2 separate regions of the Homo sapiens genome follow, and region 1 is linked to region 2. The links are contacts of gene promoters, found by promoter capture Hi-C in blood cells and fetal thymus (Javierre and others, 2016). All regions are on one chromosome and are shown on one strand. The core of a region is centred on a gene start or on the middle of the fragment in contact, and the rest is flanking DNA. Distances in the headings are between cores, read along the strand shown. Region 1 holds the start of NAA10 (N-alpha-acetyltransferase 10, NatA catalytic subunit). Region 2 holds the start of CCNQ (cyclin Q).

Region 1 (6,456 bases), core at 1-2,500, 340 kb after region 2:
GCTGAGGGGTGCTATAAGAACTCCATGTCCTTTCTGTTCAATTTTTCTATAAACTTTCAACTGTACTGAAAAGAAGAAGCCTATTCATTTTTTTTAAAGCCCACAGAGGCATCCACCAGACACGTGTAGCTTCTGTCTTCCTCCTTGGTGACTCACATTTTGGCCAGGACATACCCCACAATCTTCCCATTCTCGTCCTCAGCAATGTAAGAGAGCTGGTGACAGGAAAACAGAGTGAGAAAACTTCTTGTCGGAGCTAGAAGAGCCCTTTAGAGGGACACAAACTGGACGAGTGGCGAGTTGTGTGATGGCTCATGACCTCCGGGCTGAGTGGCTTGGTCTCCCCCTCGCCACACTGTGCCCTGCCCATACCCAGAAAGAAGACGCAAAGTGGGGATCCTGCCCCTATTCTCTGCTCCCTTCGGGCGCCTTCTTTTCCTTTGCCCCTGTCTGCCAGCTGAAAACACCCAGGACGCCACCGACCATACAGCCCCCTGGGCTCTGACAGACTTGTCCACTCCCTCCAAGATGGCCAGATGGGATTTTCCTCGGCCTGCTTTCCCCCATGCCCAAATTCAGAAGCTGCCCACCTGGGGCCAGGAAAGGCCATGGTAGAAGTAGTATTTCATCTGGTAGTTCTCGGGCAGGCAGAGGAGGTTGCAGTGCTGCATGTTCATTAGGTCCTCTGGCTGCAGGGAAGGAGGGCAGTGGAACGCGCTCAGTCTAAGGCGGCGGTGACCACGGGTGAGAAGCCTGCTCCCCGTCGGTCTGCTCGGCCCCGCTCCCTCGGGGCTGGGCAGGCACTGTGACGATCTGACTTTGCACAACGCCCGGAGCACAGGAACAGGAGTGGGCGCCCCGGAGGTCCCCGGAGCCCACCCAACGGAGGCCCGACATCACGCAAACAGGAGGGAATCGCAGCCCCGGCCCCGCGCCCCGGCCTCTTCGGCGGGCTGGGCCAGCCCCATAGGTCCAGCGGCCGCAGGCACACTCAGGGCCACCGGGCCGGGCTCGGCCGGGGCCCTCGGGAGCATGCGCGGCAGCCACCCGGCCCGGCGCCCACGCGGCGCGGACAGCCTCCCGCCCCGGGCGCTCACCCTCGCATTGCGGATGTTCATAACGGCGGCGGGGCTCGCGGGTCCCAGCGGATCGTGAAGGCGCAGTCAGCTGCCGCCGCGCTCCGAAGCGACGCCGGGACGGCCGGGGCTGGGACCGGAGCTGGGCTCGCTGGGCGACGGCGGAAGGGGCGGTGCGCGCCGGGCCGGCCACCGGCCGGAAGTGCACGGCCGCCGGGCCCGTCCTCCCGGCCGCTTGGCCAATGCGCGGGACAGGCCAGCGCACGGGGCGGGCCAATGCGCGGAGCCGGTCAGCGCGGGGCGGGCCTGGGGGCGGGGCGGGCGCTGCCCCGGAGCTGGAGCCGGCCCCTCCCTCGGCGCGACAGCCCCCCTCCCGCGAGCCCACAGACGCGCGCACAGCCGCAGGTGGAGCGGACTCAGCCTTTATTCCGCGCCTCGGCAGGCGGGGGTGGGGGCGGGGGAGGGGGCGGGGGCGGGGCGGCTCAGCAGGGCGCCCAGCATCTCCTCGCACATGGCTAGGCACCGCGGCACGTGGAAGCAGCCTGCGGGTAGAGGCGGGCAGGTAGTGAGGGCCGGGGGCAGCCGAGAGGCGCAACCCCTGCGGCCCCGCCCTCTCCCCCACTCACCTTTGAAAGGACCTCCCTTGATGGAGAGGGCCACCTTGCCCTCTCGGCTCAGGTAGCCAAACCATTCCCCGTACTCGGGATCGCGAAACTGGAATAACAGAGACAGTGACAGCTAGCGCCTGCAGGACCCGCCCAGATGCCACTGCATCGCTACCAGGGGTCAGAGCCTGGGTTGACCCCAGGTGACGTGGCTCCAGAACCAGCGATCTTAACCGCGACACTGCGTCCTCCACAAAGATGAAAGCAGGGGTGGGCGCAGCAGGCAGGCTACAACTATATAACCGACTGGGCAAGGGGATGAGACACTGCTAGATGGAATGAAAGAACTCTGCCCTGGGGTGTAGAAACGTTGTCTATCGGGCCGGGAGCTGTGGCTTGCGCCTGTAATCCCAGCACTTTCGGAGGCCGAGGCGGGCGGATCACCTGAGGTCAGGAGTTCAAGATCAGCCTGGACAACATGGTGAAACCTCATCTCTACTAAAAATACAAAATTAGCCGGACGTGGTGGCACGCACTTGTAATCCCAGCAGTATACTCGGGAGGCTGAGGCGGGAGAATAGCTTGAACACAGGAGGCGGAGGTTGCAGTGAGCTGAGATCACGCCATTGCGCTCCAGCCTGGGTGACAGAGCGAGACTCCATCTCAAACAAACAAACAAACGAACAAACAAACAAACAAAAAAGTTCTCTATTGTGATTGTAGTCGTGGTTACGTTGATTCAAAGAAACAAAGAACCCGGCCGGGTGCAAAGGCTCACACCTGTAATCCCAGCACTTTGGGAGGCCGAGGCGGGCGGATCACAAGGTCAGGAGATCGAGACCATCCTGGCTAACACAGTGAAATCCCGTCTCTACTAAAATACAAAAAATTAGCCGGGAGTGGTGGCGGGCACCTGTAGTCCCAGCTACTCGGGAGGCTGAGGCAGGAGAATGGCGTGAACCCGGGAGGCGGAGCTTGCAGTGAGCCAAGATCGCGCCACTGCACTCCAGCCTGGGCAACAGAGCCAGACTCCGTCTCAAAAAAAAAAAAAAAAAAAGGAAAAGAAAAGAAACAAAGAACCCTGATGGAGGCGACGACCTGTCATGAAACTCTTAAGAAGTGACTCCCTTGGAGCTCCCATTCCCGGCTTCACAGGCCTGTCTTCCAGTAGATGCACAATCTCATCTGACTCCTGTCCTGGCTCACCATTGGTCCCAAACTCATCTCCTCCTCCCTCTGCCCCTGCCCAGTGCCCATTCCACTCTCTTTCCTTCTCTCTCCACTAGCATTCCATGGGGCACCTGTCTCAGGGAGGCTTGTCAGTTCAGCCCCTTCTCAAAAGGATCATGGACTCAATTACATTGAAGTCCACTATGAAAATGTCTCTTTAAATGGTGGCCCATAAGAGTTGGTGTATTCTTCTTTGTAGGAAGTAAAACTAGTCCTGGGCTGGGCACAGTGGCTCACGCCTATAATCCCAGCACTTTGAGAGGCCGAGGCGGGAGGATCACTTGAGGCCAGGAGTTTAAGACCAGGCTGGGAAACATAGTGAGACCCCATCTATACAAAAAAAAAATTAAAGAATTAGCTGGGCGTGATGGCACACAGCTGTAGTCCCAGCTACCTGGGTGGCTGAGGTGGAAGGATCGCTTGAGCCCAGGAGGTTGAGGCTGCACTGAGCCATGATTGTGCCACTGCACTCAGCCTGGGCGATAGAGACCCTGTCTCAAAAATAAATAAATAAATAAATAAATAAATAAATAAATAAATAAATAAAAACTAGTTCTGTGTGTATTCATTCTGTCTTTTGAGTTACATTGTTCAAGTCCTTACTTATTTTTTGACTGCTTGACATGACACAGGAAGGTAAAGAAGAATTTCCTTCAATGTCTGGATTTTTGCCTTCTGTATTCTGTTATGTTGGTTGATGCATAATGACTTACCTGTTTTTTTGTTTGTTGGTTAGTTTTTTGGTTTTTGTTTTTTTAAGACGGAGTTTCGCTCTTGTCACCCAGACTGGATGGAGTGCAGTGGCGTGATCCCAGCTCACTGCAACCTTCACCTCCCAGGTTCCAGTGATTCTCCTGCTTCAGCCTCCTGAGTAGCTGGGATTACAGGCACCCGCCACCAAGCCCGGCTAATTTATTTATTTATTTTTTTTATTTTTTATTTTTTTTAATGGAGTTTTGCTCCTGTTGCCCAGGCTGGAGTGCTTCCCGGGTTCAAGTGATTCTCCTGCCTCAGTCTCCCCAGTAGTTGGGATTACAGGCACCCGCCACCACACCCGGCTAATTTTTTGTATTTTTAATAGAGATGGGGGTTTCACCATGTCAGCCAGGCTGTTCTCGAACTCCTGACCTCAAGTGATCCACCTGCCTCGGCCTTTCAAAGTGCTGGAATGGCAGGCGTGAGCCACCGCGACCAGCCCAATTTTTGTATTTTTAGTAGAGACGGGGTTTCGCCATGTTGACCAGGCTGGTCCAGAACTCCTGACCTCAGGTGATCCACCCGCCTCAGTCTCCCAAAGTGCTGAGATTACAGGCATGAGCCACCATGCCCAGCCGATTTACCTGTTGATTATAACTTTTGTAATTGTTTAATGTCATCTATATCTTATTAAAATGTATTCCTTCAATTTCATTTTTGAGTTAGAACTGGTGGCCCCTAACACACACTCTATGAATGCATTAAATATTAAGATATAGCTGCAGGTCTAACAACCCTGCTGCTTTGGAAGTAGTGACGAATATATGTGATACTTGCAGATGTCTCTCTAACTGCAATGCAATGTAAACACATCTGGATTTCTATCGGTGACAAAGCCAGGCACTTCTATTACCAATGTGGTTCATTGCCTCCACTCATAATGGCAGCAAATGCTAGTTTCAGTTAGAGGTTAGTACAAATAAAGATGTGATTCTCCGCCCCCGGTTTCGAAGCTCACAGACCCCAGAATAAGATCCCCTGCTATAGTCCTCGCAGTACCAGGGTTCACCAGTGGAGTCGGAGTCGTGGCTTTAGAAACGCATGATGAATCTTCATTCATTCACCACCCAGGCCTTGCCACCACTGGGTGCCATGCCCTTTCCACTGGGTGCCATGCCCTTTCCACTGGGTGCCATGCCCTTTCCTGTGTTCAGCAGCTCGAGTTGCCTCCTGGGCAGCAGTCAAGACAGCTTATCACTCTGCTCCTAGCACTTGGGCTTCAGGGAGCCCCTGGCTTGGTTTTCTTCCTGCGTCACCACTGATTCTTGTCTCCTTTGCTGGGCCCCCATTTCCCTTTTTGCCTCATAGATCTCAGCAGCATCTGTACTGTTTTTTTTTTTTTGTTTTTTTTTTTTTTGAGACCAAGTCTTGCTCTTGTCCCCCAGGCTGGAGTGCAATGGTGCGATCTCGGCTCACTGCAACCTCTGCCTCCTGGGTTCAAGCGATTCTCCTGCCTCTGCCTCCCAAGTAGCTGGGATTACAGGCACCCACCACCACGCTTGGCTAATTTTTGTATTTTTAGTAGAGATGGGGTTTCACCATGTTGGCCAGGCTGGTCTTGAACTCCTGACCTCAGGTGATCCACCTGCCTCAGTCTCCCAAAGTGCTGGGATTACAGGCGTGAGCCACCGTGCCCGGCCTTTTTTTTTTGAGACATAGTCTCGCTCTGTTGCCCAGCCCAGGCTGGAGTGCAGTGGTGTGATCATAACTCATTGCAGCCTCAAACTGGGCTTAAGCAGTCCTCCTGCCTCAGCCTCCTGAGTAGCTAGGACTACAGGTGTGCATGACACCCAGCTAATTTTTTAAAATTTTTTGTAGAGACCAGGTCTCGTTATGTTGCCCAGACTGGTTTTGAAGTCCTCGGTTCAAGCGATCCTCCCGTCTCAGCCTGCCAAAGTGCTAGGATTATAGACATGAGCCACTGTGCCAGGCAGCATCTACATTCTTGTGATACTGAAAACATTCATGGTGAGTCCAGATCTCTCCGTCTGAACTGGAGACTCAGGAATCCCACTGCTGCTCCACCAGACTGTGAACCCTCTGTCCCCACCAGCTCCCACCTGGGCCAGCCCTCACTGGCTGGGATGACAGCTACAGCTTCCTCTGCTGTCCCAGCTTCTGCCCTGTTCCCTACAGACTTCCCCCATAACACCCTCCCCTCCAAGCCCCAGGACCCAGGTAACAATGGAATCAGACCAGGCAGCTGGAGTCCGTCCCTTGCCCACTCTGCCTTTATCCTCCCGGGCTGCCAGGCCCCCCTGCTGTGCCACATGCCCCACCCTGCCCAGACTCCCAGTCCCTCAGACACACCCCTGATTGACTCGGCCCCTGCTCAGTGCTTCCCTGCTGCCACCCCATAGGAAAGAGCCCCCCCACAACCCTCTCCAGTGGTATTATTCCCACAGCTGTCACTCTCACCACCACCTAGGTCTGCTTGCTTACACTCTGCTCCTCCCGCCCCCACCACCAAAATTCGAGCTCTAGGAGGGCAGAGGCTTCTTCGTTGACTGAACGAACAGCACTGGGGCTCCGGAAACTCTCAGACCAGCTGAGCGACTGTGCTCAGCGAGGGGGCAAGAGCGCAGCCGGGCCAGACTCCCCCCATTCCCCCATTCAGCCTCTAGAGGGGACAAGGAGGCAGCTCTCACCTGGCGGAAGGTGTACTCAGCCACTTGGTAGAAGAGGCGCAGCAGCACAGGGTCCCCACTGTCACTGTAACCCATGAGGAAGGCAATCATGGCTTCACTGTGTGGCCACCAGAGCTTCATGGCCCACTCCAGCTGAGGGGA
Region 2 (6,222 bases), core at 1,697-4,196:
GAGAGAAAGCAGGCAAGAGAGGACTTCAATCCAGCGCTGGCTCACTGCTCCAGTGAGGGGAGCCATTGGAATGGGCCCTAGCAGGTACAACCCTACTTGGACAAGGCTAAGAACTTCCAGCAGAGCCAGTGGCTCCTGCTGGGTCTCTTACTGGGCTCTCAGACTCTAGTGGGTGACCCAAGCCCCTGGGGATGGTGTTCAAATGCAGACTTCCCCTTTTGTAGGTCTGCGGCTCTGAGATTCTCCACTTCTGACAAGCCCCAGGTCATGCCCATGTCAGGGGTCTATAGACCACGCTCTGGGAAACAAGGGTTCCGAGGACCGCTCAGTTAGCAACTGGCATAGCAGCTTCTGCAAAACCCTGGAAAAGGACTATATGCTGTTGTGTGTCTGGGTTCACCTTAGCAAACAGCTAGCTAGAAGTCGCCCACCCCACAGCTACGACGACAGAAAAGAAACGGCCTCGTGGGTGCCACAAGTCCTGAAGTCACAGTGAAAGATTACACTGAGCACTGGTTTCGTAGTCCACAGGTTAGAAGAGGTGAGCAAAGCAAGCAGCGTGACTGCCAAGAGTAACCACTTGCATTGCAGAGAAAAGGCAATGTTTATGGCCACAGCCAGGCACCAGGGAAGGACACCAGCACATTGAAAAGTGGGCTGGGCATGCTGGTTTACGCCTGTAATCCCAGCACTTTGGGAGGCTGAGGCAGAAGGATTGCTTGAGCCCAGGAATTCGAGACCAGCCTAGGCAACAGAGTGAGACCCTGTCTCTACAAAAAAGAGAAAGAAAAAAATTTTTAAGGTGAACAAAACTCAAAACACCAGAGCAGGATTCAGTGGATTCTACTTAGGGGTTAAAGCCCATCCCCAGCCCATCCCTGAATGGCTCCTAAGAAAATCACTGCCCTGGTGCACAGAACCAAAACAAATTCACAACCACCAGGGTTCACAAGACAAGGTTAAATGACATCCACTAGGCCAAAACAGAAAGGCGAAGAACAACCGACAATCAACCATGAAATGACAGTCAGCATCCTCTGCCTAAGAAGGTAGATCAGTTCCCTAGGGCTACTGCAACAAATCACCACAAATTCAGCCACTTAAACAACACACATTTATACTCCTCCGATCCTGGAAGTCAGAAGTCCAAAACTAGCCTAGAAAGCTAAGATCAACGTCTAAGCAGGGCTGGCTCCTTCTGGAGGCTCCATGGGAGAATGTTTCCTTGCCTTTTCCAGCTTCTAGAGGAGGGCTGCATTCCTTGGTTGCTGGCCCCTTCCTCCATCTTCAAAGCTTCTAACTCTGCTTCTGTCCTCACGTGGCCTTCTCTGACGGTGACTCCTCCTGCCTTTGCCTTATAAGGATGGGTGTGGTTACACCCAGATAATCTAGGATGATCTCCCATCTTAAGGTCTCTAATCACATCTTCAAAATCTCTTTTGCTATATAAGATGACATTCACAGGTTCCAGGGATTAGGATAGGGACATCTTTGGGAAATCAATATTTAGCCTCCTACAAAGGACAAAGGATTGTGTAATACATTTTATAAAGAAGTCCCTCAGAAGGTCTAAACTTGTTATATAAAGACAATTCCTACCTGGGACCCCTCATTCCAGGAGATGCCAGATAAGGTGCTGTTACTGACATGACCTTCCAAGCTTTGTTTTACAGAGCAAACCCCAATTTACACGGACCCTCCGAGCAGACGGTAGCAGATGAGGTGTCACTGCCATCCTTCCCTAATAATAACTTTGCAACTCTTCTTGCAAATTACAGTAAATTTACATATCACTGGGATGAACAGTCCTGCAGCAGTCCTCAGACTCTCCGCCCACCTTGGGTAGAAAGCACATCTGCCCAACCCTTCTCCCCCAAGCAGTAAAGGTAGGAAATAACTACCCGCCAACTAACAGTATCTCCTATCAAGATACTGTTGATGGGCCGGACGAGGTAGCTCACGCCTGTAATCCCAGCACTTTGGGAGGGCGAGGCAACTGGATCACCTGAGGCCAGGAGTTCAAGACCAGCCTGGCCAACATGGTGAAACCCCGTCTCTACTAAAAATACAAACATTAGCCGGGTACGGTGGCACACACCTGTAATTCCAGCTACTCGGAAGCGTGAGGAAGGATAATTGCTTTAGTCCGGGAGACGGAGGTTGCAGTGAGCCGAGATCACGCCACTGCACTCCAGCCTGGCCAACAGAGCGAGACTCCGTCTCGAAAAAAAAAAAAATACTGTTGATGGCTGGATGGAAACGATGTTTCTACAGAGATCTTAGCTTAATCACCTCGCCTGGGAAGCGCGGAGCCCAACACTACTGTGGATGTCCTGGCAGGGTTCGGAACAGGAGCTGCAAGCAGCCTAGGTCCCCGGAGTGACAGGAACCCTCGGACAGCGTTCTCCAAAAGGCTCCGCGCGACTAAGCGCCATAAAGTCTACCGGAGTGCAGGGCCGCGGGTGCCGGCAGAAGGCGTGGCGCACTGCGCAGAGCTGCGGGCGCCCGGGCCGGTCTCCGCCTCGCTGGAGGCCCAACCCGGCCACGTCCTCTCCTAGGGCCTGCACACCGGTCCACGCCATGGGGATACCTCGCGGCTCACTGCTCAGCACACCGGGCGCGGCGCAAAGGCGGAGGTCCTCAGCCCCGAGCAGGGCTTCCCGGCCTCTGCTACGGTGAGCACTCCAGAAGGCCGGCCTGGCCAGCCGGGCCCGCTCCGCGAAGCGGGCCGCGGCGCCGCCTGTCCTGGCCTCCCCCGGCCGCGGTTACCTGCCTCCATGATGAACCTCGCCACTCGGAAGTGCACCCTGGCTTCGGGCGCCGGCTGCCCCTCCGGGCCCCGCGCTGCAGGCCCCCCTCCGCCGCCCTCCGGGGCTTCCATGAGGCGCCGCGGCACCGGCGGAAGGAGAGGCGGCCCCGGCGCGCAGAAGCCGGCAGAACTGGAGGTGCTCGCGGCGGGCGCTGCCGCCCCACCCGGCCGCGTCCGGCCCCGCCCCGCCCCGCCCCTCGCCGCCCCGCCCCGCCCCTCGCCGCCCCGCCCCGCCCCTCGCCGCCCCGCCGCTCCTCCGCCCCGCCCCGCCCCTCAGGGCCCTCGCCCAAGGGTGAGCGCGCGCTTGCGCCACAGACGCTGCCTGGCCGCGCGCGCAGGCGCAGGCGCAGGCGCAGAGGCCGACACCACGGGGCGGCTGGTATGTGTCCACCGGCCCCTAGGCGCCTCGAGCCCCGCCCCTGGGAGACGCAGGCTCCTCCCCGCGGAGCGAGAGCCCGCGGAGCTGCTCCGAGACCCGCGGGAGGGCACCTCCGGTCACCCGAGCCGCAAATCCCCGCCGTCCGAAGGGGGTGTCGCCCCGGGCTGTCGGCCCAGCGTGGCTTAGGCCAGGTACAACCGGCAGCGCCCGCCAAGCCCTGGGCTAGGGACGCCTGCGGGAGTTCACGGGGAGGCGCCGGTGTCTGAGGTCTGAGAAGACAGCGGCCACCGGAAAAGGTGCTAATGTTTGCAGACCCCGATCCATCGACACCCCAAGGAAATGCTGTGCACAAAATTCCAAGAGGGCCTTTTCGAATAGACGCATGAACGGTGTTTGTGTCTGGATCGTCCAGCCTCCCGGGATCGATTGGGAATCTAGCTTCTGCTTGCCTTTCCAGCGCGACGCACAGTAGGAGCCTAATAAATGTTTGCTGAATGAATGCTGAATATCGAACTCAGGTATTTACCATCTCATTTTTCATTCGCGTCTTCCACAAGCAGGAAATGGTGCATCAGGCTTTAGGGACATAGAACCCCAAAGGTACTCACTCCCAAGTTAGTGACAGTCACTGGAGTCATTCTGATACATTCAGATCATTGCTACAATTTCAGACAGCTGGCAATATGGAGAGGAAAAAGCTACTGCTCCCTAAACCCTTCTGCCCAGGCGCCTTGATCTCCTGATGGTGTGGAAGTCTCCACCTCTTACCCCCACCCCACACACCCAGTCCGGCCTCATTCTCCTTCCTCAGCACTTCCTGCCTCCACCAGCCTCCCCAAGTCCTCTCTCCATCCCAGCTGGGTTAGTTTCCTGGGGCTGCTGTAACAAATGACCACAAATTGGGTTGCTAAAAACAGCAGAAGTATATCCTCTCTCAATTCTGGAGGCCAGACACCTGAAATGGAGGTGACACTAGGGCTTTGCTCCCTCAAAGGCTCTGGCAGAGGATCAGTTCTTCCTTGCTCTTCCAGCTTCTGCAGCCTGAGTTCTTCCTGGGCTTGTGGCCCCATCACTCCAATCTGTGCCTCCGTCTCTACATGGCCTTCTCCCTGTCTTCTCGTCTGTCTCTTATAAGCACACCTGTCACTGGATTAGGGCCTACCTAGATAATCCAGGAGGAGCTCATCTTGACATCCTTATTTTCATTACATCTTGCAAAGGCCCTTCTGCTAAATAAGGTCACAGTAACAGGGATTAGGACACGGACACACCTTTTGGGGGCTGGCATTCACCCCACAATACCAGCCGCCAGAGCGAGCTTTCTAAAAGGCGAGGCTGAACAGGTCCTGCCCTGCCTAACACCCTCCGGAGTCCCTTCACCTTCAGGAGAAAATGTGAGGCCTTGACCTCACATGCTGGTCCTTGTGGAGTCACCCTATCAACTGACCAGCCTCGGATCTCACCACTTTGCCTCATGGCAGAGACCTTCGGCAGGTCCCCCAAAGGTTATGGTCTCCTGGCTGAACGTCTCTGCACGTATTCTGCCTGGTGAAGGAATTACCACTCCACTTCCATCACCCAGCTTGCTCTTGTCTGTATGTGCGCGGGTGTGCACGTGTGTGTGCATATGTGTGCGTGTGTGGACTGACTCAGGGTCCCCAGCTCCCTGTGCTGCTGACACCTGCCACGCCTTGAGCACCGTGTCTGTCTGCAAGCTGTGAGCAGCCCCACCCTCTTCCCCAGCCCAAGGCTGAAACCTAGGCAATGCCCAGAGGGCCCACCTCCCCTCAGCCCCGTTGGTGGAGGCCAGGTCCTGTGTTCCCCCAGACAGTGCCCTGGGCTGGACCAGCCACAGCTAGATCTGGAAGGCTCAAGCCCATGTTCCCTAAAGCAGCTATGGGCCTTGGGGGATCAGGCTGCTGCCTCTCAGCTTCCCCCACCACCACATCTGTGCACACTAACACACACCCCCATGCACACGCACACACATGCATCACACATCCCCCCCCCACATACACACATGCACACGTGCACATATGTGAACACCCCAATTCAAACAGTGCTTCCCTCTGGCCCCTGGTGGCCCGCCCATCCTCTAGGCACAACTCCTCCTTCTCCTCTGGGCCTTATGTGCTGAAAAGAGTCCGGGCTCAGCAAGTAAAAGGTGCCTGGGAATGTGAGCCGAGAGAATGACTCAATGAACACATGAATTTTAAAGCCCTGGGTCACCTCGGCGCAGTGGTTGATGAATGAATAATTCACTAGCCACCAACTGGAGCCAGCAAACCTTTAGGCAGCACCTCCTCTCCCACTGGCAAGCCTGTCCCCAGTGTCCCAAAGGTGGCATCCCCCGTCTCATCACCCCGGCTCAGATGGTGAGTTCCTTGAGGGCTGAAGCCTGGTTCTCAACCCCAGGCTCGACCCTGAGGTTGACAGTCACCATCAGAAGCGCGATTCTGTAATATTTGCCAACGCTTCCTTAGCTAATCCTCACCATGTGCCCATACATTGATTAAATCACAGCCTACCCCTCACAATAGCACTATTATGGAAAAGAGTGAGTGACTCATTTCAAGGAATAGGACTCGGGCTGAAGCTCAAAGGATGAGGCAGAGAAAGAGGGAAGAGGCATTTGGGGTCCAGAAGAGAGGCTGTGCACGGGCAGGGTCACTTGAAAGCCTGTGTGGTCTTCAAAAAGCATGGGCAATTTCCAAAGCACCCACCCTGCTCTGGTCTTCATCCTGGCAGCCTCATCAAAGTCCAGGCCTGCCACTTGTCCTTAGAAACTCCTCGCTGCCTGGGAACCTCCTGCCACAGTCACCTCTCCACTGTACCTTCCGAGCCAGCTCCCTGTCACCATCGGCAAGATCCACAGCCTCCATCTCTGTTCTCCCTCCCCGCTCCCCACTGCCTACCCACCCTTCATCTTTCTATTCAATTATTTATTTATTTATTTATTTATTTATTTATTGAGACAGATTCTCACTCTGCCGCCCAGGCTGGAGTGCAGTAGCATGATCTTGGCTCACTGTAA

What was found. Contacts are between HindIII fragments. The CHiCAGO score rates a contact against its expected background, and 5 or more counts as called.
Region 1: a contact is called between the fragment with the promoter of NAA10 here and the fragment with the promoter of CCNQ in region 2, in 3 of 17 cell types (neutrophils, non-activated CD4 T cells and naive CD4 T cells). The highest score is 7.2, in neutrophils.

What each region holds. Positions count from the first base shown.
Region 1 is chrX:153,933,787-153,940,242 of GRCh38, forward strand. It overlaps NAA10 (N-alpha-acetyltransferase 10, NatA catalytic subunit), which reads right to left and starts at 1,251. Exons shown (of 8, transcript NM_003491.4): 1 at 1,098-1,251; 2 at 591-689; 3 at 157-215. The coding sequence starts at 1,118. RENBP (renin binding protein) reads right to left here. Exons shown (of 11, transcript NM_002910.6): 9 at 6,316-6,447; 10 at 1,703-1,790; 11 at 1,483-1,618. The coding sequence ends at 1,500. RefSeq lists a silencer at 941-1,520 and enhancers at 1,511-2,016, 2,017-2,521, 5,659-6,423. The HindIII fragment of the contact is 15,713 bases long and covers 1-6,456 here.
Region 2 is chrX:153,596,193-153,602,414 of GRCh38, forward strand. CCNQ (cyclin Q) reads right to left here and starts at 2,947. Exons shown (of 5, transcript NM_152274.5): 1 at 2,770-2,947. The coding sequence starts at 2,881. It overlaps LOC105373383 (a long non-coding RNA gene), which reads left to right and starts at 3,148. Exons shown (of 1, transcript NR_131982.1): 1 at 3,148-3,701. RefSeq lists silencers at 2,658-3,017, 3,028-3,077, 3,178-3,317 and enhancers at 4,458-4,959, 4,960-5,459. The HindIII fragment of the contact is 8,000 bases long and covers 1,659-6,222 here.